2 separate regions of the Homo sapiens genome follow, and region 1 is linked to region 2. The links are contacts of gene promoters, found by promoter capture Hi-C in blood cells and fetal thymus (Javierre and others, 2016). All regions are on one chromosome and are shown on one strand. Each heading gives the region's core, a stretch centred on a gene start or on the middle of the fragment in contact. The rest is flanking DNA. Distances are from core to core; before and after follow the strand shown.

The links. The method cuts DNA at HindIII sites, captures the fragments that hold promoters and counts their contacts. A CHiCAGO score of 5 or more calls a contact.
Region 1: a contact is called between a fragment that was not itself captured here and the fragment with the promoter of PHF19 in region 2, in 3 of 17 cell types (naive B cells, total B cells and naive CD4 T cells). The highest score is 6.6, in naive B cells.

The regions. Positions count from the first base shown.
Region 1 is chr9:120,974,751-120,981,269 of GRCh38, forward strand. It overlaps C5 (complement C5), which reads right to left. Exons shown (of 41, transcript NM_001735.3): 28 at 5,333-5,504; 29 at 1,950-2,155; 30 at 29-181. Among named protein-coding and RNA genes, the nearest start is that of C5-OT1, 25 kb to the left of the region's middle. The HindIII fragment of the contact is 677 bases long and covers 4,666-5,342 here.
Region 2 is chr9:120,873,736-120,880,069 of GRCh38, forward strand. It overlaps PHF19 (PHD finger protein 19), which reads right to left and starts at 3,453. Exons shown (of 15, transcript NM_015651.3): 1 at 3,356-3,453; 2 at 821-1,021; 3 at 244-325. The coding sequence starts at 1,006. RefSeq lists enhancers at 1-479, 2,290-2,881, 3,893-3,942, 4,203-4,252 and silencers at 2,473-2,922, 3,203-3,252, 3,493-3,772. The HindIII fragment of the contact is 7,264 bases long and covers 2,954-6,334 here.

The DNA.
Region 1 (6,519 bases), core at 3,754-6,253, 100 kb after region 2:
AAAATACTACAGAAAGTTCTTCATTTACCTCTACTGGCCTCCCAAGGAAATTCTTGTCTGTCATTTTATAATTATGTAAGGCACCTTTATGCTTGTAAGAAACATCGATGTCCATACTCAAGCGGAGTTGTTTAACCAGGAGTGAATATTCCGTCAGGCCCTCAATGGCATTGATTGTGTCCTGTCAGCAATCAGCAAGGCACAAAAATATGTTTAGTTTATTTATGTACTCCCTATTTACAAATGCCCTTTTTATGAGAGGGTAGGGCAGCATTGTCTGGAGATGAAACTCCAGCTGACTCAGTAAGACTGGTTAAGAGCCCCATTGTGGAGGTGGAAGAAAGGTCTCTCCCTCCTCAATAAAGATGCTGTTAGCAGGGACAGGAAGGAAGTGTGGCCTCAGATCTGGGTCCTCTATATATTCTGCAAATGTAACCTCAGGCAAGTCACTGTTTGCAGAATTCATCTGAGTCTTTGAACAATTATCTCTTCCTCATCCTTTAGTCTGACCTTAAGTATCTCCACAACAAGGCCATAAACTCCCCTTTCCCGTTATTCTCTGTTTTAAGGTTCCCTTTTTGCCCTTTCTAGCATTCATCTCAATTTGTAATGCTTTTATTTATAGTTTATTGTTGGCCTACCCCACTGCAATATAAGATTTGTGAGGCAAGTAGGTAATATATTTTTCTTGGTGCCTGCTGTGGTTTGAATGTGTCCCCCAAAGTTCATGTGTTGGAAAGCTTGGTCCCCAATGTGGCAGTGTTAGGAGGTGAGGCCTAATGGGAGGTGTTTGGGTCATGGGGCGTACCACTTTCATAAATGGATTAATGCTGCTTATTATAGAAGTGAATTTGTTATAAAAAGATGAGTTTATACTCCACTCCCACCAACCCTCCACTCTGCCTTCTCTTTGCCCTTCCACCATGGAATAATGCAACAAGAATGCCTTCACCAGGTGCAGCCCCCCTGATCTTGGACTTCCTAGGACCCAGAACCATGAGGTAATAAATTTCTGTCCATTGTAAATTATCCAGTGTGTCGTTTTTTCTGTTACAGCAACACACAATGGACTAAGGCAATGTCCATTGCATTTAGCAGGTACATAAATATTTGTTGAAGGAATAAATGAATAAACTTTATCTTTCTGGACCTCATCTTTCTCATCTATAAAACTGAGAAACATGACTAGATCAGAGATGTTAAACAATGTGGCCATTCCCTCTGCCTATATCTGTGGCGGCAAATGCTAATCAATAGGGCAGTCTTTTCTGCTAACCCTATAATTGTACCCAAAATAAAACACATTACATGGTCAGTAAATTAATACTGAAGGCCCTCTCTACATCTAAATTACATATATATAAATATACACACTCCATCATTATCTAAACATCCAGGCAACAGGGAAGATATTAACATTCGATCTAAACTTTGAATATAAACATGTATTATACGACTACATAATAATTAGTTGTAATAAAAATACATACTCAAATGAGTTTACATTAAATAGCTAGATAGATTAACATGTAACAATCAGTATTTCTCCCACTTTTTATTTATTTCGTTGTGGAGAAGGAGCATCAGTACCTTTGTCTACATGGCAACCACTATTTATTACATAGGATATGATATAATTGCCAATAACCTTACTAGCCTTTCATGGTGATTTAGAATCATGAAGGAAGTACTGGGCTTAAAGTCAGGAGACATGAGTTCTGATTCTGGCTCTGCCATGAATTCCCTGAGTAAAACTCCCTGGGCTAATTTCCTCTTCTGTATAATAAGAGTGTTGACGCAGATAACCTGTAGGGGTCCTTCAATTCTAGGCATTATTCATATCTATTGCATGCTCATTTGGTGGACAAAGGCATGGAGGCCAGATGAGTGTGGTGGGGGAGAAAATAAAAATGTCTACAGGGAGATGAAACAAGACAAAGAAATGTTACCTGGGTTGAATAAAAGCCACCTCCATACCTCTGCTCTTCTGATAGCCATTTGATGACTGGGTTAACATAATTTATATCTTTCAAGTTCAGACTGGTGAGTAAAGCATAGGCAGTTGTTTCTACCATACGTGCCGTACCAGTGTTAGGTACAGAGCTGTCTTTATGCTGAAGATTGTCTTTCCAAAAACGATAAATGGGTGGATTACCTGAACATCAACAAATTCCATTCATTAATATGATTAAAAATGTGAATTTGACATAATAATTCTACCAGGTGTATTATGGCCTTCCAGTTTCTAGAAGCTACTTACTTTTTCTTGTTAGAGGAACTTCCTGAAGATGACCAATGCAAAACGAGATCCCTTAATATGGTATTACTTGTCTTTACACATTGAGCATCCCTAATCTGAAAATCTGAAATATGAAATGCCCCCAAAATCTGAAAGTTTTTGAGCTCTGACATGATGCCACAGGTGGGTAATTTCACCCCTGACCTCATGTGATGGGTCACAATCAAAATGCAGTCAAAACTTTGTTTCATGCACAAAATTATTGAAAATAGTGTGTAAAATTACTTTCAAGCTGTGTGTAAAGTATATATGAAACATAAATGAATTTCATGTTTAGACTTGAGTCCCATCCCCAAGATATATCATTATGTATATGTAAATATTCCAAAATCTGAAAAAAATCTGAAATCTGAAATACTTCTGGTCCCAAGCAGTTCAGATCAGGAACACTCAACCTATTTTTTGTTTTTTTTGTTTGTGTGTTTTGAGACAGGATCTTGCTGGCACCCAGGCTGGAGTGCAGTGGTGTGATTGTAGCTCACTGCAGCCTCAATCTCTTGGGCTCAGTGATTCTCCCACCTCAGCTTCCTGAGTGGCTGGGACTATAGGGGTGTGCCACCATGCCAGGTTATGTTATCCAGCCTGGTCTCAAACTACTGGGCTCAAGCAATCCTCCTACCTTGGCCTTCCAAAGTACTGGGATTACAGGCATAAGCCACTGCACCCGGCCTCAATCTGTATTTTAAAATCAACATAGTACACATGTACTAGGAAGGGGCAGTTTAGTAGAGTCGAAAGTGCAATAAACTGGTATTGCACCCAGCTTCTAGTCTTTCTTTTGTTGCTAACTTACCATGTCACTTTGGGCAAATTCCTTTAGTTCTGTGTGACTCAATTTCCTAATACCTATAGTATAGATAATACTTTCTTCCATGCAGTGAAACTCAAATGAAATACTAAAGTAAAAGATTTTGTAAACTAGAAAGCACCATGCATATATAAGGGATTATTATTATTATTATTATTACTGACACTAAAAAATAAACTGGAGAACCTTTTTCCTGATAGGAAAATTTACATCCTGGAAATTATGAGATTAAACCTAAAGCCTTAGTTCAGTCTTTCATTATTTCTTTCCAATTTAAAGCACTCAAGACAATTTCGTACATGCAGCACTTTTCATAAATTAGGCTGTAAATTATATTTGTTATTTAAACCTGTAAACCTCAAATCCTTTTTGGAACAAACTATTTGTTTTAAAAAAAGTAATGCATATTTGGAAATCATATTTGAAGGTTAGTAAAAATTTTGATGTGTATGTTTATAATTCATAACTACATTATTTGCATGACCTTGAAAATGATATTGACCCTTCCTCTCAGAGTCTCAGATTTGCTGTATTTAAAATGAAGAGTTGAGTTTAGGATTTTAAAGAAACCCAACTGGAACAACTCTTGGATTATTAAGTTCCCTTCTAGATCTTAAATTTTATGATTTTATGACCCATATCTCACAATACCCAAGACATTTCTTTTGTGTTATTTTTGAAGTATCGTACAAGTGGTTTTGAGGCATATGTTAAAATATAGTAATTTTAAAATGATGGCACAAATCATATTTTGTAGATGGTCATAAACCTCAGTAAGATTTATAAAGCCTTAGCTAGAAGAGGACTCCAAAGTGCCCAACCATGCTAATAATCACTGCTACTCTCTTTCTATTTTTTGTCTCTTGACCTATAGGAAGCAGTATCTTTATTCTTCAAAACCAAACACATACTTTTATAGCAAACCTGGTAAAATATAAGCCAGGTCATGCACTCCTTTGCTCAAAATCCCCCAGTGGCTCCCCTTTTCACTCTCAAAGCTGAAATTAAAGTTCTAGGGCTCCTTCTGGTCCCCACAGCACATTGCTGTGGATAAGACATGGGCACTCCTTGCTCTAGGTGGAAGCAGCCCTAAACTAGGGTATGTGGCCGGGGGAGTGGAGCACAGGCTAGATTTCAGCCTCGATTCACTTGATTGCTTAGGTACTTTGTCCACGGCACAACTGTTTACAGAAGCCCTGAAGAGTCTCTCTAATGCCTTAAATGACCTTCCCTTGCTCCCTCACTTTTTCCTTACCTGACCTCACTTCCTACTCCTCTTCTCACTCCTCTGCAGTCACACTGGCCTCCTTGCCATTCTTGGAGCACCAGGCATGCCCATGCCTCAGGGCATTTGCACGTGCTGTTCTCCACCAGGTACTTCCTTCTAGATAGCCACAGGAATTGCTTCTTCACCTCCTTTCAGCTCTTGACTCAAACACCATCCTCTTAGTGAAACTTAAGCCCAGTCAGCTTGTCTAAAATTACAATGCATCCTCTCACCTTATTTTCTTTCCCTGCTCTATTTTTCTTCATATCAGCCATCACCATCTATTCATAAAGCTTTATTTATTTATCATGTTTGTGTCTCCCCAGTTAGAATTTAAGTTTCATGATGGCCTGGATTTTGGGGAGCCTGTTTTGTTTATTCCTTTATTCCCAGAGACTGGAATAGTGCCAGGTATATAGGGGGTGTCCAGGGTGTACATAGGATACTCAATGCATATTTATTGAATAAAGGAATAAATAGAGGACAGGTGTGGTGGCTCATGCCTGTGATCCTAGCACTTTGGAAGGCTGAGGCAGTAGGAGTGCTTGAGCCCAGGCATTTGAGATCATCCGGGGAAACACAGTGAGACTCGTATCTGCAAAATATAAAAAAAAGTAACTGGGTTCAGTGGTGGGCACCTGTAGTCCCAGCTACTGAGGTGGGAAGATCACTTGAGCCCAGGAGATCGAGGCTGCAGTGAGCCACGATCATGCCACTGCACTCCAGCCTGGGTGACAGAGCGAGAACCTGTCTTAAAAAAAAGAATAAATATTTGCTGAATGAATGCATGAATAAATGAATGAATAACGGCACACATTACATCGTATTGTGACGGTTTGTTCCTTGAGGACAGGAATTGCATCTTACTCAAGTTCACATGTCACCACCCACTTCCCAGACTAGCAGACTTTATGTCTTAGTGAACACTCACTGAATACATGTATGGAACAAGTTATACCTTTAACCAAAGCTTCTCTCTTCAAAGCTGAAACAATTGAACGAAACTGTGGGTGAGTTTTATCTCCCAGGGAAAGAGCATACGCAGAAATGGCCAATGTAAAGGTGCTCTGGGCTGGCAGTGTATTTTCAAGCAGAAAGTTGTCAGCTTTAATTAGAGCTGTGTCGATTTTCTGGAAACAAGAGAAGATACTTCAGTTTCTATGTCAAGCAACCACCTATCAATTGATATGAACTACCCTCAGATCCCACTATCCTGGAGCAAGCAATATGGGGGTGAAAAGAGGACTGACCTAATGGAAATGGATGGCTTCTCAGTGAAGCAAATCCCTCCGAGAGAAGGAGCAGAGCATAATCTTGGAAGGGACAATGAGGTTGTCCAAATCAGGTTAAGCTTTTTGCCTCTGAATTCTCACTTTCCTTTTAGAGGTTTTGTGCCTTTAGTTTCTGAGTACACCGTCAGACCTAGCCTCCAGGAAGAAAAGGCACCGAGCATAGACACAATTTCTTTTTTTTTCTTTTTTTTTGAGACGGAGTCTCGCTCTGTCGCCCAGGCTGGAGTGCAGTGCTGCGATCTCGGCTCACTGCAAGCTCCGCCTCCCAGGTTCACGCCATTCTCCTGCCTCAGCCTCCGGAGTAGCTGGGACTACAGGCGCCCCGCCACCACGCCCGGCTAATTTTTTTTTTTTGTATTTTTGGTAGAGACGGGGTTTCACCGTGTTCGCCAGGATGGTCTCAATCTCCTGACCTTGTGATCCGCCCGCCTCGGCCTCCCAAGTGCTGGGATTACAGGCGTGAGCCACTGCACCCGGCCCATAGACACAACTTTTATTGTTCCCTCTCAGCGTAGTTGCAACAGGCACACAGGTTCAAAAGGAGTTACACTTAAAAAAATAAATAAATAAAACAATAAGTAGCAGAAAGAAACCCTAACTGCCACAGTACTTTTAGATCCTAAGAATGCCTGGGTAAATAGTCCCGATCACTAGTCCTGACGCCACCAAAATGGTTGTGTTGGGCAAGTGGGCCAGCAGAAAGCCTGCTGCGATGCTGCTAACATCCTGCCTGCCTCCTCTCCCAGCTCCACATGCATCTCTCACCCATGTGGCCACTAGGTGCCTGGGAACTAGTCTTCATTGATTATTTTGTCTTGTTAAGCTTCTGAAACAAACTGAAAACAAATGGTTT
Region 2 (6,334 bases), core at 2,203-4,702:
CTTCCCCACCTGCCCATCCTCCCTCCTGGGGTATGAATTCTCAAGGGGATGACTCATGTCCTAAGTACCTTCCTAAGTCAATATACAACCAGATTTGATCATCATCACAGGTGGGCTTGGGGTTCATGGTCAAGGGCAGATGCCAGGAGTAAGAGATGGAAGGACAGAAGGAAGAAATGAAGGCAGCAGAGGAGAGAAGACCTGGGGAGGTTGGGGGCTACCCGAAATGTTAGGAAAACTCACCATGCTGTATGTCCTTCCATAGGACCCAGTATTTGGAATTATCTTCGAAAGTCACGAGGCAGCTTTGCTTAGAGCTGCTGACCTGGGGTACAGATAGGAAGGAGCAAGTGAGAAAGGGCTGGGGAAAAGCCAACCTGGAACATAGTCTTCCTCCCCCATTTTTGTCTCCGTATGTTCCAGAAAGCAGGGCTAGAAGGGGAAGAAGGATGGCAGTTCCTGGACAGGGTGTACTCCTAGTCACCTGGAGTCGTACAGCCAGGGACCGATGGATGGCAACTTGGTCAGAATGTTGAGGACAGAAGCACAAGTCAGATGCTCCTCTGTGATCCTCTCAAACCTGACTTTTTTGTTTTGTAGGCTCTCAGAGCACTTTTCTAAAGAACTAGTTGGATGATGTTGACCCTAGGGATGGTGCCTGCAAGACCAGGCTCTGGCCCCTCCCACCACCAGCTTTGGGCATGAGGGACAAGAAGGGAATTCTCCAGCAATCCCCCTGCCCCCTGGTCTGACAGCCAGGCTGGAACATGAGCAGAGAGATTCTGAGTCTGAGAACAGGGGCCAGAGAGGATGGGTTTACCCTCTTGATCTTCCCGAGGTAGTACAGGCCATCTGTCCACCGGCACAGCACATACTGGCCCTCCGTCAGTTTGGACATCAAGTCTTTGAAGTTGTTCTTGACCTTCGCCAGGGCCCCCTTGTTGGGGAGGTGGCTGGTGGCACCATAGGAGTCCCGAGTCCCTGGATCCAGAGCTCGATTCTCCATCAGCTTCCCCTGACACTGGGAGAGAAAGAACAGGGTTTTTGCTTCTTGCTTCCCTGCTTCAGAAAGCCCATCAGGGGAAGGAAGGAAACCACCATTTCTGTACCCTGTGCTATAAGCCAGACTTGGTTATTATCTCACTGATTCCTCGTGACCATCCTATGAGGGAGACATTATTATTATTCACATCTTACAGATAGGGAAACAGGTGTGGCAAGGAGAAGAGGCTGATGGGCCAAAGGCAGAGCCATGGCCCATACCACACTACCTTTTAAAGAGAATGGATCTCTCAACCCACACAGAACAAAGTCCCCTACCCAGCGGGCCTGAACCACTCCCTGTCTCAGGAGGCTGAGGTTTTATTCCTTAAGCAAACACAGTCCATGTGCTCTGGATGGAGGATCTTCTCCAGGCAAGCAGTTGGGTTTTGTTTTTACCCCCAACCCCTGCAACCATCCCTAACCTGAGATCTGTCCAGAGAAAATTCACCTAGAAAGGAAAACTGGGTGGCTTGTAGCTAGTGTAGACTGGGTCATCTGTCTTTTGTAATCCCCCCTTCTGTTCTCAATTATGAGATGATTTAATGGAAACCAATTCTGGGACATTTAAACCCACTTATGCTTTCACCCAGATACACATTTGCTCCAAGCAGTGAAGTCATCCATCCCCATGCCAGCCTCTCCACGCCTGTCTCTCACCATCCTATTCAACGTGCAGTTCACCCATCGATTTCTCTCTCCCTGCCTGTGGTACTGCCTTCATGCATCTCAAACTCCTCCAAGCAATTAGTTGCCACAGCCGGCCCATTTTAAGTGCCATGATTTCTGGCTTTCCAGCTCTAGCTTCCATCCTCCTGCCCTGGTCTCAGTTCAGGCCTCATCTTTTGCTTGGGCCATTCATTCATTCATTCATTCACCCAATAACAGTTTCCTGGGCCTTGTGCTTACCTCCACTAGGCACCTAGGGTGGGGAACGGTACTACCAGCACCCAGTGCTAAACAGGCCGTTCCTGCATTCCTGCCTCTCCACCAGACTCTTCCGCAGGGCCACCAATTTCCTTCCAGAAACTTTCTGGGGCTCCCCACTGCCCTCACTGGTGCTCAAAGCCGTCCCTAACGCCCCCTCCTTTCTGCTGGGCTCACCTGGCTCCAAGTCCCTCCACATGCTCTCCACTACAGCCACACACAGCCTCTCTCTTTCCCCGCGGGCCTACTCGGGTCTCCTCCTTGTGGCCATGGCGCTGGGCACCTGGTGTTGTGACTATCTGTTCACAGGGAGAGAGTCCAGTGCCTGTTTCTGTGTGGTGCGTGTGTGTACTCCTGTGAGACTGGGCAGGATGATGTCTACGGCATTGTGCCAGGGAGTGTGTGAAGCTAAGTATGTGCGGGGCCCTGGGGCGAGCCAGGCACTGCAGGGGTCTCGGCTCCCCAGATGGTGGCGTGGCCACGACCTTCTCCACCCCCACTCCCATCTCCTTTTTCTCCAGCGCAGAGCGCACAGGCTCCCGGGCAGGGGATGCGGTCTGAATCCCTGTCCTCTCCCTGCCACCTGGCTCGCCCGGCGCTGCGAGGTCCCCGCCCGCCCGGCCAGGGGCCAGGCCGGGGCCGCTGCAGGTTCACAAACTGACACTTCCTCTCCCGCTGCGCCTCTAGGAGCCGGCCGGGTCGCCGCACCCGCCTCCACCCTGGCCGGGCGGGGGCCCCCGGGTGGCGCCCCCCCAGCCCCCGCCTCCGTCCTCCCGGAGCGGGCCCCCGCGGGCTGTGATTGGCTGATTCAAACCCATTTGCAAAGAAATGCCTGTTTGCGGGTTCCCGTCTGCGTCCAGTTCAAATCCGCGGCACCGGGAGCGCGGGGCCGGGCGGGGGCAGGAAGCGAGGATGATTCATGCGCCGGGGCCTCTCCCAGGGCGGCCGTTGGCTTTTTAAAAAGGATGTTCAGGAGGGGGGAAAAAGCTTGCAGAAGCACCCCCTTCGGGTTCAGCGCTCCTCTCCTCAGTCGCTCGGACGCCAAGCCTCCCCCATCCCAACCCTGCCGCAGCCTGACTTCGGACGTGAGCGAAATGCCAAACGCCCGTCTGTCCTTCCCCCACCCCGATAGGAAAATTAAAGATCGGGGGCGAGGAAGAACGACCTGTCACCCATGCCCCCCGGGGCTCGGGAACCCGGGTGGGGCCCCTCTGCCCCGCAGGTAACCTGCACCCCCGGTCCCCACCCCCGAGAGCCCCGCTCCGCAGGAGTCTCACCCCCCGGAGGCGTTCGGGCCGCCAAAGTTCAGGGAGATTTCGAAAAGAGAGGGATGAGGGCCGGGAGGGGAGAGCGTGGCGGGGAGTCCGCCCAACAGCGCAGAACTCACCGCGAGGCTGCGTGTCCGCCGGTCCCACTTGGAGTCTGGCCACCAGGCGCATCGGTGGCGGAGGCGGCTGCGCTCGGCCCGCGGCTGCCCGGCCGAGTGTCCGCCCGTGGGGCCGGGGTCGGGGTCTCGGCGGGGGCGGGGCGGGGCGGGGGCGCCGCGGGGAGGAGGGGGAGGCGGCGGAGGGAGGGGCCGGGGCGCTCAGGAAGGGGCCCCCCGGGCGCGGGGCGCCATCTTTTTCGCGTTTTCCCGCGAATTATTGACGTCCCGCTTATGTAATTAGCGGGGGCCGCGCCGGCCTCGCCATTGGAGCCCGCGGCCGCCGGGCTCCGCAGCGCCGCCAGCCCCCGCCCGCCCCCGCCCGCCCCGCGGGCGCGCATCCTCCGCGGCCACTAGCCAGGACCCGGGCCCCCCGCCGAGGAGCGGCCACACCGCGGCGCACACGGAGACGCCAGGCAGCGCTCATGGCGCACACGACCGCTCGCACACTTGTTGAGGAAACACAGCTCTGCGCGCAGGCACCGGCGGACCCTGGCACAGACACACAGCAGGGCGGCGCGGACCCTTGGCGCAGACACAGACCCAGGACGCCCAAACAGGCCACACAACACCTTGCACTAACAGCACAGGCGTTCGGCACAGAGACACAGCACAAGTATAATGTAGATACACAACACACAGTGCACAACGCATGTTGTTCCGACACAGGTCAGAACACACCACAGCATGTACAGGACACAAACACACCACAAAGAGAAGTACTGTACACACCAGCCATAGGCATAGATACACAAGGGGGAACACACTGTACACAACAGAGACACACAACAGAACATGCATGTAAGGTAGACGGACATAACACATAAAGTCACAACACAGACGGGCAAGAGACACAAGTTTTCCTGAAAAAGTGGCATTCAGATAGGTTGTGGAAATAGGTTAGTGGGTGTGCCAGGTGGAGGGAATTCAGTGGGCTAACAATGCAATTTTTAAAATACGGGTTAAGGATATCAAAAGGCAATTCACAAAAGAGGAAACCTACATGGCCGAAATAGCCCCAAACAACAAATTGCGTAGAGACACAGTGCACAGAAATACATGGTACAATCGCAAATATATACCACACGCACAACATGTCATGTAAATAAAGGGCACACAATGAAAGACAACATGCACAGAGTCATAGGAATGGCAGATGGAGTCAGTGGGCAGAGCTCCAATCATAGGGACCCTGCCCTGTGGGGGAAAGGCAGACATGGCCCCACCCAGACTCACTCTTGGGGGAAGGGAGGAAGAACACTTACCAATAACCCCACCCCCATCCTTGCCCTCAGTCCACAGCGCCCACCTCTGTGGCTACCATCCCACTCTGCAGACACCCCCACCAGACAGGGATATGTGCTTTCATGGGTGTGGCCAGTGGACAGCACCTTCCCCCAGAGCCTTCCCTGTTCACTGTCAGTTGCTCACTCTGGGCCCTCTGCCTCCTGGCCTTGGAGCATGATCTGTGCAGCCCCCCACCTCACCTTCTCAGCAGAGATCCAGGAGTCCTTTCACCTCCTTCCTCACTTCCTTCTGCCCCTTGATCCCCCTGCTCTCACCTGCCTCACTGCCCCATTCTGGATCCTGGCGCCTCAGCAGAACCTAGCACTGCTGAGTACCTGCCTGAACCTGGAAGGAAAGCCTGGGAGCAGCCCCATGGCACAAAATCTCCCAATCCTGGAGAGCACATTTTCAAGTCCCAAAGGGGCCCTAGGATTGTGCTACTTAACCATGTTCTGCCAAGAGAAGGTGTGTCCAACGCGGGTAGGGCTGATGATGGGAGCAGAACACTCCCACTAGCTTCTAAGCTGGCTGGGTCTGCCTTCAGGATGCTGGGGGACAGAGATGATAGAGCGAAGTGCTCACCTCTGAGGCTACAGGCCAGCTCCACCCATTACTGGCCATGGGAGCCTGAGTGTGTCACTTCTTTCTTTCTTTTTTTTTTAAACAATTCTTGCTCCAGAGACTTTAAGTCTTAAGCCTCCGTGTCCTCACCTAAATAGAGTTATTGGGAAGGTTAGAGTTAATGTATGCAAAGCCCCTGGTGCCCAGTAGGTGTGCAGTAAGTGATCATTGTATTAATACTTTGTTAAGAAATTCTGTATTCAGAATCTTGATTGCCCCACTGTGTGGGACTAGAGCGGGGGGATGTGAGACACACAGGTGGATGGGAGACACACAGGTGGATGAGAGACAAGGAACTGGCAACCTCGTGGAGGAGGCGGTGTTGATGCATAGATAAATAAGAGGGGATTGTGCTGTGAGCTGCACGTGGAATTGAATTGTCCTGGCTTCAAGTCCAGCTCTGCCTCTGAGCCAGGGCGGGGTCTTGGGTTAGCTAGACCCTCCTACACCATGTTTCTTTATCGGTTGAAAAGAGGGTAATAATACTACCCATCTCGTGGGGCTGTTGCATAAATGTTCAAATAAGACAATGAAGGAGCAGGTGCTTTTGTAAACTAAAAAGTTTGATATGCAAAATAAGAAGTTAAAACACTACAGAACAGGAAATTATAAATGCCACAAGAAAGGTACGGTGTCACCAGTGATTATTTAGAGGCAACTCTAAATTCGAATTGAGGAAAGAGAACAAGTTTCCCGGAAAAAGTAGCAATCAGTTAGGTTGTGGAAATAGGGAGGTGGGTGTGCCAGGTGGAGGGAGTTTAATGGGCTGACCAACAATCCAATTTTTTAAATATGGATTAAGGATATCAACAGGCAACTCACAAAAGAGGAAACCTAAATGGCTAAAATAGCCTAAAATGTGAAAAGGTGCTCAACCTTATTGGCCACGTGAGAGACGCAAATGAAGAGAACTGTGATACACCATTACACATCCACCAGATGGGCACGGAGTCGAGTCTGTCAATATAGGGGGGTGGGGGGTGAGGATGTCGCACAGTTGGGACCCTCAAATACCTATGGAGATATGAACTGGTA